Linked DNA regions of Homo sapiens: region 1 is linked to region 2. The links are contacts of gene promoters, found by promoter capture Hi-C in human tissues and cell types (Jung and others, 2019). All regions are on one chromosome and are shown on one strand. The core of a region is centred on a gene start or on the middle of the fragment in contact, and the rest is flanking DNA. Distances in the headings are between cores, read along the strand shown.

What was found. The method cuts DNA at HindIII sites, captures the fragments that hold promoters and counts their contacts. A contact is called where the count stands out against the background at its distance.
Region 1: a fragment that was not itself captured here is called in contact with the fragment with the promoter of NSL1 in region 2 in 1 of the 25 tissues and cell types used here (aorta).

The regions. Positions count from the first base shown.
Region 1 is chr1:212,646,552-212,651,530 of GRCh38, reverse strand. All of the region lies in intron 2 of LINC02773 (long intergenic non-protein coding RNA 2773), which reads left to right. It also overlaps the pseudogene RFKP5. Among named protein-coding and RNA genes, the nearest start is that of LINC02773, 17 kb to the left of the region's middle. RefSeq lists an enhancer at 4,759-4,979. The HindIII fragment of the contact is 4,490 bases long and covers 291-4,780 here.
Region 2 is chr1:212,789,397-212,795,001 of GRCh38, reverse strand. NSL1 (NSL1 component of MIS12 kinetochore complex) reads left to right here and starts at 3,225. Exons shown (of 6, transcript NM_015471.4): 1 at 3,225-3,472. The coding sequence starts at 3,239. It overlaps TATDN3 (TatD DNase domain containing 3), which reads right to left and starts at 3,108. Exons shown (of 10, transcript NM_001042552.3): 1 at 3,015-3,108. The coding sequence starts at 3,080. RefSeq lists enhancers at 47-96, 437-506, 385-885, 3,020-3,299, 3,774-4,552. The HindIII fragment of the contact is 11,895 bases long and covers 1-4,591 here.

The DNA.
Region 1 (4,979 bases), core at 1,286-3,785, 140 kb after region 2:
TGGATGCTACTCGGCCAAAACAAAGCCAGATGGCCCAGCTAATATCCAGGAATTTGAAAAGCCCTTATTGAGCCTGTAGCCTGGGAAATGGGAAGGCAATGGCTGGACTTACTTATGGCCACCATGATTAATTACCAGGAAGCAAGTCACGACTATATGCTTCATATGATTTTGCAAGTTTTATTAACAGCTGGGTAAGTTTACTTTGATTATAATGTGAGTATCTATGTCCACCAACTTTGTAGTGTGGTTAGTTGTTCACAATTTTAAGAAATTGTAAGAATAGAGTTGTTAAAGAAAAAAAAAGACTTAGAAGGAACATTTAAAAAAATTACTTAGTCTCAGAGATTGCCAGCTGGATACATCACACCTGAGTGAAGCTGTGGAAAGGCTCCGAGACACCAGAGCTGGAAACAATGCCCTCAGCTCCCGAACACGCTTGCGAGTCCCTGGAGGATCTGAGGTTCCTTTTTAAGCAGAAAGATAAGTAATGCCTTTTCACCTCAAAGTAAGGCCATTAAGCTCCAGATCATCCTCAATAAGGGACACCATCCTCTCAATATTCAATAATCACCTTCTACAGGGGCCTCTAGACTGCCCATTGTGGGATATGACAGAGGCAAAATCCTGCTTCTGTCTTCTTTGGACCTGGTTCGATACCACTTTCAGCAACTCATGGAGCCAACTCAGCCTAGACAGTGAGAGGCTAAGACTCACAGAACCACCACCGCCCCTCTGTCAGCAGGAAACAGTTACAGAAGACTGACCTTCATCCACTTTCCACCAAAGATTTGGGGTCTTGGACTCTTAAGGCAGGGGTAAATGTTACAGTAGGTAGCTAGTCAGGTATGAGCAGGGCAGGAGAGGGCTCCCTACCACACACACACCAGAAATGTTGGGCAACCATCAGGTGATGGCCAGGCGGTTGTTAACAGTTTGTTTAAAGTAATAATTAGTCACAGCTGGTGCCAGGGAAAGGTAGGCTCCTAATAGATAGAAAACACCTGAAACTGATCAGCAGCTTCCCAATAAGATCCTGGAAGTATGCCAACAAATAAAACCCCAAGTCAAGATGTTAAGCTGTGCACTTGGTTTCTCGAGTCGCCTGCTTGGCCCTCTTCCAAGTTGCATTTTCCTTCTTTCCTTTCCTTTTTTTCCTTACTGGCCTAAAGCTTTTAAAATAAACTTCCACTCCTGCTCTGAAAAAAAAAATTACTTAGTCAAAATTTATTTCAAGGCCTGAAAACATTCAGACTAATCAAAATGGCACTACTGTAACTTTTTTTTTTCCTTCTTTTTTTTTTTTTTGAGACAGAGTCTCGCTCTGTTGCCCAGGCTGGAGTACAGTGGCTTGATCTCGGCTCACTGCAACCTCTGCCTCCTGGGTTCAAGTGATTCTCCTGCCTCAGCCTCCTGAGTAGCTGGGATTATAGGCGCACGCCACCACGCCTGGCTAATTTTTTGTATTTTTAGTAGAGACGGGGTTTCACTGTGTTAGCCAGGATGGTCTCGATGTCCTGACCTCGTGATCCACCTGCGTCGGCCTCCCAAAATGCTGGGATTACAGGCGTGGGCCATCGCGCCCGGCCTTGTAACTTCTTATAATAGTTAATATAAAACTTTGAAAAATGTAGATACAGTTAACTAACCTCTACGCACCATACCATCCATCTTAAAAGCAATGGCTATTTAACAAAATGTAAGGTGGCTATAAAGTATAAAAGAACATTCACACACTTAAAGAGAACATAATTAACAGCAAGCTAGTCAGACAAACAAACACAAATATTTTCACATTTTCTATGTTTGTTTTTAACTTTGCTTCATGAAGCCACTTATAATTGAGGCTTCTTTCAAGTACAGGATTTCTAATATGAAAAATAGTATTTTCTACATAGCTCTATAAAGAAATGAAAAGCCACAAGCTGCATTGTTTGCCATAAATTCATACACCAAAGAGTAAAACACAATCCAACTAAATTTATACATGTTTCCCTCTTCTCCAACAACTGCTTCAGATGTTTTTCTATGTACTTTCAAAATATTTTTATTAAAGTCAGTTCAAATTCATTTATGCAGATTAGGAAAAAATGATCCATAGTGAATTATTTTTAAAATTACCTTCTGTATACTTCTATCCCTCCACCAAACCAACCACCAAATCTATTGCTAAAGTGAACTATAATGCAATATACTGTTTGAAGGGGCCCAACGCAATCTGTAATCTTAATTTCCTAAATATCCAAAGATTTCAACATTCTGCCAATATCAACAAAAAGACTCAAGTGGCCAAAAATCACAGTCAGTAGGAGGAAAAAATCTACAGTATGAAGATTGTTTAACAAAATCTGTGCCTTTCTCTCAAGCTACAAGCATTCTTAGACTAGCATTAAATTACATTGTGTGTATACAACTACGTCAGTTTAGATTTGTCCTGGAACATATAGTTACATTAAGAATAAATAATTTTCTAAGTATTTTATAGTTTAATTGGCTTTAAATAGTTAGGCTAGAGGGAAAACAAGCATTTTATGTGTGTGTTTTTTTAAGAAACTGGTACATATAAACTAATGGCTATGTGTTCACTTAAATCTTGAGGAAACCTAAAGATGAAGTCTGTTGTGTCTTTGTTTTTCCTAAAAAAGGAAAAAAATCAAAGTCAAGAAAAATGTTAAAGTCTTATAGATATCTACAAGAATATCTACTCTGAAGAAGAAAGAAGTGTTATCCAACAAAAAGGAGAACCTATAGATTCAAAAAACATCTATCTTACTGTCTTAACAACAATAAAGATATGCAGAGGGAGTCTAGACCACTTAGAACCGAAGCAGCTCTATACAAAAATGAAAATGGTGCAATGATGTGACTGCCCAGATAATGACTAAAGGCCAGGTGCAGTGGCTCAGGCCTGTAATCCTGGCATTTTAAGAGGCTGAGGCAGGAGGATTGCTTCAGCCAAGAGTTTGAGACCAGCCTAGGCAACGTAGGGAGACCTTGTCTCTACAAAAATATTTTAAAATTGAGCTGAGCACGGTGGCTCACCCTGTAGTCCCAACTACTCAGGAGGCTGAGGTGAGAGAATTGCTTGAGCCCAGGAGGTCAAGGCTGCAATAGACCTTGATCACCATTGTATTCCAACCTGGGTGACAGGGCAAGACCCTGTCTCAAAAAAATAAACAAATAAATAAAAATAAAAATAAATAAATAAATAGAAAGAAAAAAGAAAATGACAAAAAAAGTTTCACAAATGTCTTCATGCTTATAATAATATATTAATGCATCATATATCACAAATACAAAGTCTGGAGTTTTCCCCTTAGGTTTATAATAAACTATACAACTCCTATTTAATGTATTTACTTTTATAAGCCTTCTCTGTTTAGGACTATATGCTATGCAAGTACATACATGAAGGTTTTTGCCATGAGAACTATAGTTCTCATCTCAAATTAGTGGCTTGCCTTTTAACCCATACTTATATACATTTCATTTCCATTATAAGACACTTAATACCCTTCTAGTGGTACATTCTAATCAACATATTTTGAAAATCTTTATTTTTAGATAAAGCTTTTTATGTATTTAAATAAATAAAACCTGTTAACAATTTAACAATTGAAGCACAATATAGTAACTGTGTTGTTTTGTTTAAACTAGTTCACAGCTGTGGGAAAATGTTTGATTTTAAGACTATAACCAAGGTGAGACTGGACAGTTGTAAGCAGTGAAATACTAGAATACAGTGAATGAATAAATAAGATTTTTTTTTTAATCAGTGGCCGTTCATTATTTTGCTTTTAGGAACCTGGAAGAAATGGTCTTCTTTAAGTTTCAAATGTTCTGGTAAATGTAGGCGTTTCTTAGCTTCCTTAATATCACCTTGAATTGCCGAAATAAGTGACTCTAAAGAAGCAAAGTTCTTTCGGGTCTGAGGTAGCCAAGGATGGCCACATTGAAGATCTCGCCACGCAAGTCGTTTTTGAAGATACCCATGATATACGTTTCCATGGACTTCTTTGTTTTCTTAGAGTATGAGTTCCATCCTGTCCTCATAATCATCTTATAGACATCTCCACTTCCAGCACTGGCCCGACCATAATAAATGCCAGTGCACTCATCAGCTGGAAGAGTACTACTTGTTCAGGGAAGTTCGCTGTGGCCATGCCCAGTGCTTGGATCCACAGCTCCTGGCCTGGGCAGAAATAGAGCAGGTGCCTCAGAATGCAGTCCATTCGCTTGGGGCACGGGCTGTGGCCCAGTCCATGCATTGCCCAGACCCCCGCACAAGGGGGTCCTGGGGGACGGGGTGTGAACTCTGTGCTGGGGCAAATGCCCACGACACGTGGTGGTGGGTCCCTCACGCCGCCGACCCCAGGAATAGTTTCTGAGGCAGATGGACTAGGGAGGACTGTGACCTGCACCTGCTTCTCCCACACCCTTCTCTGATGGGGTCCCCCAGGGATGACACTGATGGGAGCAGAGGCTTCTCACGGATGATTTGGGGATGATTTGGATGGGGAAGGCAGAGAAAAGAAACAGGTGGTCTTGGATTATGCAAGTTCTACCGTATTGATGCAAAACTTTGATTCGTCCGCACCACCTCCATTTAAACTGAATCAAACACGTGTTCGCACAGCATCAGTTTCACCATGCTGAGGCCCCGGACCCAGGTGGGGGCGAGGTTTGCCTAAGCACGCTGCAAGACCGCGCACAGCCAGCGATGTGCATGCGCACACCCGCACCTGCACATGCGCACACAGCCCAAACACTTGCAGTCGCACAGTGCTGCCTCTGGACCGACAGACTGCGATGGGAAGTAAAGTGAGACCAGAGCCAGGTGCCAGGCCAGTGAAAGTCCTGAACTGGCTGCTCCTGGCTCCAGAGAGGGCAGATTCAATAGGGTATGTTGACGTGAATGCCTGGATTTTAATCCGTGCTAAGTGACCTCTTTAATGGAGGTTTCAGGGTAAGGTTCAATC
Region 2 (5,605 bases), core at 1,976-4,475:
TAACAATGATAGCAACTAATGGAGTGGTGGAAAACAAAGAGCCTACACTGACCCACTTCCTGTTTACTCTTACTATCAGTAAAGTCTGGCTACTGTTCCCAGCACTAAAACAGAAGCCTCTATTGTCAAATATACAGGGTATTTCTCTGTCCTCATCTTACTCTACTCCTCAGCAGCATTCGGAATCCCTCACTTGCTTACTCCTTCCTTCTTGAAATGCTTTCCACCCTTCACTTCTGCAATACCACTCTCTCATTGGTGGCTACTTGTCAGTCTCCTTGACTAGCTCCCCTTCCTCTTTCAGACTTCAAGAACATCTGCTCCTCTCTCTGCACTTGCCTTGAGTGATTTCACTTCCTCTCATGGTTTTATCATCATTATGCTGAGGCCCCCATTTTTTTTCTTTTTTTTGAGATGAAGTTTCACTCTTGTCTCCCAGCTGTAGTGCAATGGTGCGATCTCGGCTCATTGCCACCTCTGCCACCCGGGTTCAAGTGATTCTCCTGCTTCAGCCTCCAGAGTAGCTGGGATTACAGGTGACCGCCACCACACTCAGCTAAATTTTGTATTTTTAGTAGAGATGGTGTTTCACCATGTTGGCCAAGCTGGTCTTTAACTCCTGATCTCAGGTGACCCACCCACCTTGGCCTCCCAAAGTGCTGGGACTACAGGTGTGAGCCATCGAACCCAGCCTGAGTCCCCAATTTTTTTTTTTTTTTTTGAGATGGAGTCTCGCTCTGTCACCCAGGCTGGAGTGCAGTGTCACGATCTCGGCTCACTGCAAGCTCCGCCTCCCGGGTTCACACCATTCTCCTGCCTCAGCCTCCCAAGTAGCTGGGACTACAGGCACATGCTGCCATGCCCAGCTAATTTTTTTGTACTTTTAGTAGCGACAGGGTTTCACCATGTTAGCCAGGATGGTCTCGATCTCCTAACCTTATGATCTGCCCACCTCGGCCTCCCAAAGTGCTGAGATTACAGGCATGAGCCACTGCGCCCGGCCCCCAATTTTTATCTTTAGCTTGTAATTCTCTCCTGAGCCCATGACTCATGTTTAAAAATTATGACATCTTCATTTGGATGGGATTAGGTTTCCCAATATGCCCCAAACATAAATCTTTATTTTCTCCCCACAAACCTATTCCTTCTGCTGACCTCCCCACCTCCACCTCAGACCTTGGTCTTCCCTTATCTCAGTAAACCAGCACCACCATCTTCCCTATAGCACAAGCTAATAATCTGAGTCATCCTTGACTCCTCCCTTTCCCTTGCTATCCACATCCAATTCTTCAGTACTTACTGTGGATTCTCTCTCTAAAATGTATCTTGAATCCATGTATTCATCTCAAACTCACCTGCTATCATCATAGTACCAACAGCCAACATCTCTTGCCTATATACTGCAAAAGCCTCCTAACTAGTCTTGTAGCTTCCACTCTTCTCCTCCACCCATTTGCCATACAGCAGCAAAATGGTGTTAAAATGGATAGCATCATGCCTATCCATTTTTGTGTAATCCCAGGACTTTGGGAGGCCAAGGAGGGTTGATCACTTGAGGCCAGAAGTTCAAGACCAGCCTGGACAACATGGCAAAACTCTGTCTCTATTAAAAATACAAAAAATTAGCCAGGCGTGGTGGGACACACCTGTGATCCCAGCTACTTGGGAGGCTGAGACAGGAGAATTTTTTGAGCCCAGGAGGTGGAGGTTGCAATGACCTGAGATCATGCTATTGCATTTCAGCCTGAGGGACACAGCCAGACTCAATCTAAAAAAATAAAAAAATGAAAATAAATTTTAAAAAAGCCCTTTAATGAATCTGCATTGTGCTTCAAATGCAATCCAAATTCCTTACTGACCCACCTCATCTATCCCCTGCAAACCTCCCCAGTTTTGTTTCATGCCTTTCTCTTTCTAGCTCATCAGGCTCCACTTAGCTTTTTGGCAACTGAAATGTGCCAAATTCTAGCTTGTCTGGGGGCCTGCAACCTATCTGTTTCCCTAACCAGCATACACTCACCCCCTTGCTTGGGTGGCTCCTTGTCTTTTCAGCCTTAAGTGTCAGCTCCTGGGAGGATTTCCCCCTGAAATAAAACCCCCCTTAATCCTCTATTATTAGTCTCTAGTTTCCCACGTAATGGGTAAAACAGTTTGTAACTGATTTTACGTGTGTATTATTATTTTAATTGAGACGGGGTCTCACCACATTGCCCAGGCTGGTCTCAAACTCCTGGGCTCAAGCGATCCACCCACTTCGGCCTCTCATAGTGCTAGGATTACAAGTGTGAGCAACCACACTCGGCCATGTATTTTTGTTTGTTTGTTTGCCTCTCTCCCCCATTTGTGAATTTTTTTTTTTTTTTTTTTTTGAGACAGGGTCTCACTGTTACCCAGGCTGGAGTGCAGTGGCTTGATGTCAGCTCACTGCAACCTCCACCTCCTGGGCTCCAGCGATTCTCCCACCTCAGCCTCCCGAGTAGCTGGGACCACAGGCAAACGCCACAATCACCGGCTTTTTTTTTTTTTTTGTAGGGACGAGGTTTCACCATGTTGCCCAGGCTGGTCACGATCTCCTGGACACAGGAGATGCGCAGCGCCCGCCTCGGCCTCCCAAAGTGCTGGGATTACGGGCGTGAGCCCGCGCCCGACCTCTCCCCGATTTGAACGCGTTTCGAGGACCGCTTCCCACAAAGAGTGGCATCTCAGCCAGGAGGTGAGAGCCCCGAGGGGAAAAACAGGCCAGCCAAGGGGAGTGAGGGAACGATTCCAGGAACTCAGAAGAGCAAACAAAAGCCTTGTGGAGATAGCTTACCGCTACTGAATCAGGAAAAAAAAATCGGTATGTCTGAGGTTAAATAGGGAATAGGGAAATGAGGGGCAAGGTCATATGGCCATAAACAAGGGTCTGGGCGGGGGATATGGGGTTTCGTCCCAAGGGAGGAGAGCAAAGATAACACGAGGGGAAAGGACGGGGGCCTCCCTGCTCCCTCTGGTCCCGTATCGCCCTCACATACGCGGTCAAAGTCCGGGGCGGAGAGGTGGCAGTGACAGTCCACCAAGCCTACGCCAGCCGCTCGCATTGCGCCCCGGCGGCTGCCGCTTTAGACCGGCCAGCAGAGCCGGAGCCGGAACGTTTCAGCTGCAGCGTCCTGAGTTTCCAGCCGGATGCATGCTGGTTACACCAGTGTGAACCCGCTTTTCCGCTCCCAGAGTGCCCCGCCCACAGTTCCGACGAAAAATGGCGGGGTCTCCTGAGTTGGTGGTCCTTGACCCTCCATGGGACAAGGAGCTCGCGGCTGGCACAGAGAGCCAGGCCTTGGTCTCCGCCACTCCCCGAGAAGACTTTCGGGTGCGCTGCACCTCGAAGCGGGCTGTGACCGAAATGCTACAACTGTGCGGCCGCTTCGTGCAAAAGCTCGGGGACGCTCTGCCGGAGGAGATTCGGGAGCCCGCTCTGCGAGATGCGCAGTGGGTACGGGACCAGTTAGCCAGTTCTTTACTCATCATCCTCTTACCCAACACCCAGGATCTTAGGATTCAGAAAGATCCCACGCCAGGCCTTGGCAGAATTAACGGTGCCCCAGGCTACTGTAGAACCAGTTCGAGAAACGCTAGAGGAGAAAGAAATAGATGCTAATGTCAGCTGGGTCTTATTAATTACTTAGACCAGCGCTGTCCAGTGAAAATACAAGGCAAGCTAATCTTTATGTAGTTTTAAACTAAAAGTAAGAAATAGGTGAAGTTAATGGAAATAAGACATTTTGTTTAACCCAATAAATCCAAGGTATTTTAACATGTAATAATATCAAATGAATGAGATATTTTACATTCTTTTGTTCGTACTAAGCTTTTCAAATCTGGTGTGCTGCATTTACGGCACATCTTCGAACTAGTTACATTTAAGCGCTCAGTAACTACAAAGTGGCTAGTGGCTCACCTGTTGGACAATGCAGCCGCAGACAATGAGGAATTCTCCTGGAAAGGGTAATTCTGGAAGTCAGCCATTCACCCAAGCAGCATTTGATCTTTCCTTTTGCATGTTTTATTTATTTATTTATTTTATTTTATTTTTTTTTTTTGAGACAGAGTCTCGCTCTGTCGCCCAGGCTGGAGTGCAGTGGCGCGATCTCGGCTCACTGCAAGCTCCGCCTCCTGGGTTCACGCCATTCTCCTGCCTCAGCCTCCTGAGTAGCTGGGACTCCAGGCGCCTGCCACCACGCCCGGCTAATTTTTTTGTGTTTTTAGTAGAGACAGGGTTTCACCGTGTTAGCCAGCATGGTCTCGATCTCCTGACCTCGTGATCCGCCCGCCTTGGGCTCCCAAAGTGCTGGTATTACAGGCGTGAGCCACCTCGCCCGGCCTATTAACCTTTATTTTTACTGTTTGCACTGTGGTCATTCATAACTCACAAATGTGCGGTATTATGAGCTTTTAAATTTTTTCCGCTAATATAAGTAGATTGGTGCCTGTTATAAGGAAGCACACAATCCCTTTATTTCTTGTGTTCCCAAAAAACTACCACCTTCAGGGCTTTGCAAAAATATTTAAGAAAGGCTTGGGAAATGTGGTATAGAGGCAAATGTATGATCTTAGTAAAGTTTTCAACCAACACAATTTTTTTTAACCTATTTTAGTCTTGTAAAGAAAATGTTTTCACTCTAAAACAGGCAAAAGGGGTCGGGCGCGGTGGCTCACGCCTGTAATCCCAGCACTTTGGGAGGCCGAGGCGGGCGGATCACGAGGTCAGGAGATCGAGACCATCCTGGCTAACATGGTGAAACCCCGTCTCTACTAAAACAATAATAATAATAATACAAAAAATTAGCCGGCCATGGTGGCAGGCACCTGTAGTCCCAGCTACTCGGGAGGCTGAGGCAGGAGAATGGCGTGAACCCGGGAGGCGGAGCTTGCAGTGAGCCCAGATCTCGCCACTGCACTCCAGCCTGGGTGACAGAGCGAGACTCCATCTCAAAAAAAAAAGGTTCAGTGGAAGAATGAAGAAACACTTCCTGGGTTGTGACTCTGTATGTAGTTTTGTATATAGTGACTCTTACGTCATTCCCTCCTTGCAAGCAAGGCAAGAATAGGGATATATCTCAGGACGTTTTTAGTAGTTTTTTGGGAGAAGACTTTTGTTGTATAATCTTAGAATTTGTCTGATTCTAGGAAATGCTAAGGTATTTAAAACATTTAGGTGTCTTACAGAAAAAGAGGAACTTGGCTTAACCTATTATATCCTATTTAGTGGGACGATAAAGTGAATTATAAGATAAAGTTTACAGGGCTTAGACTACCACAGGAATTCACTTGTGTTTTATTTTAAATAAAGCAGAAGCTTTATTTTGTATCTCTGTTTAAAACTGCATATTAAGTAGCAGATTTTCTTTAAAAACAGTATTGGTAGCAGTCTGCAATGAATGTTACAAAGACAATATGTTTTCTCAGCAATTCTTGAAAGTAATTCTAGAAAATAATTTTAAAACATACATAGGCCGGGCGCGATGGCTTACGCCTGTAATCCCAGCACTTTGGGAGGCTGAGGCGGGCGGATCACCTGAGGTCAGGAGTTCCAGACCAGCCTGGCCAACACGGTGAAACCCTGTCT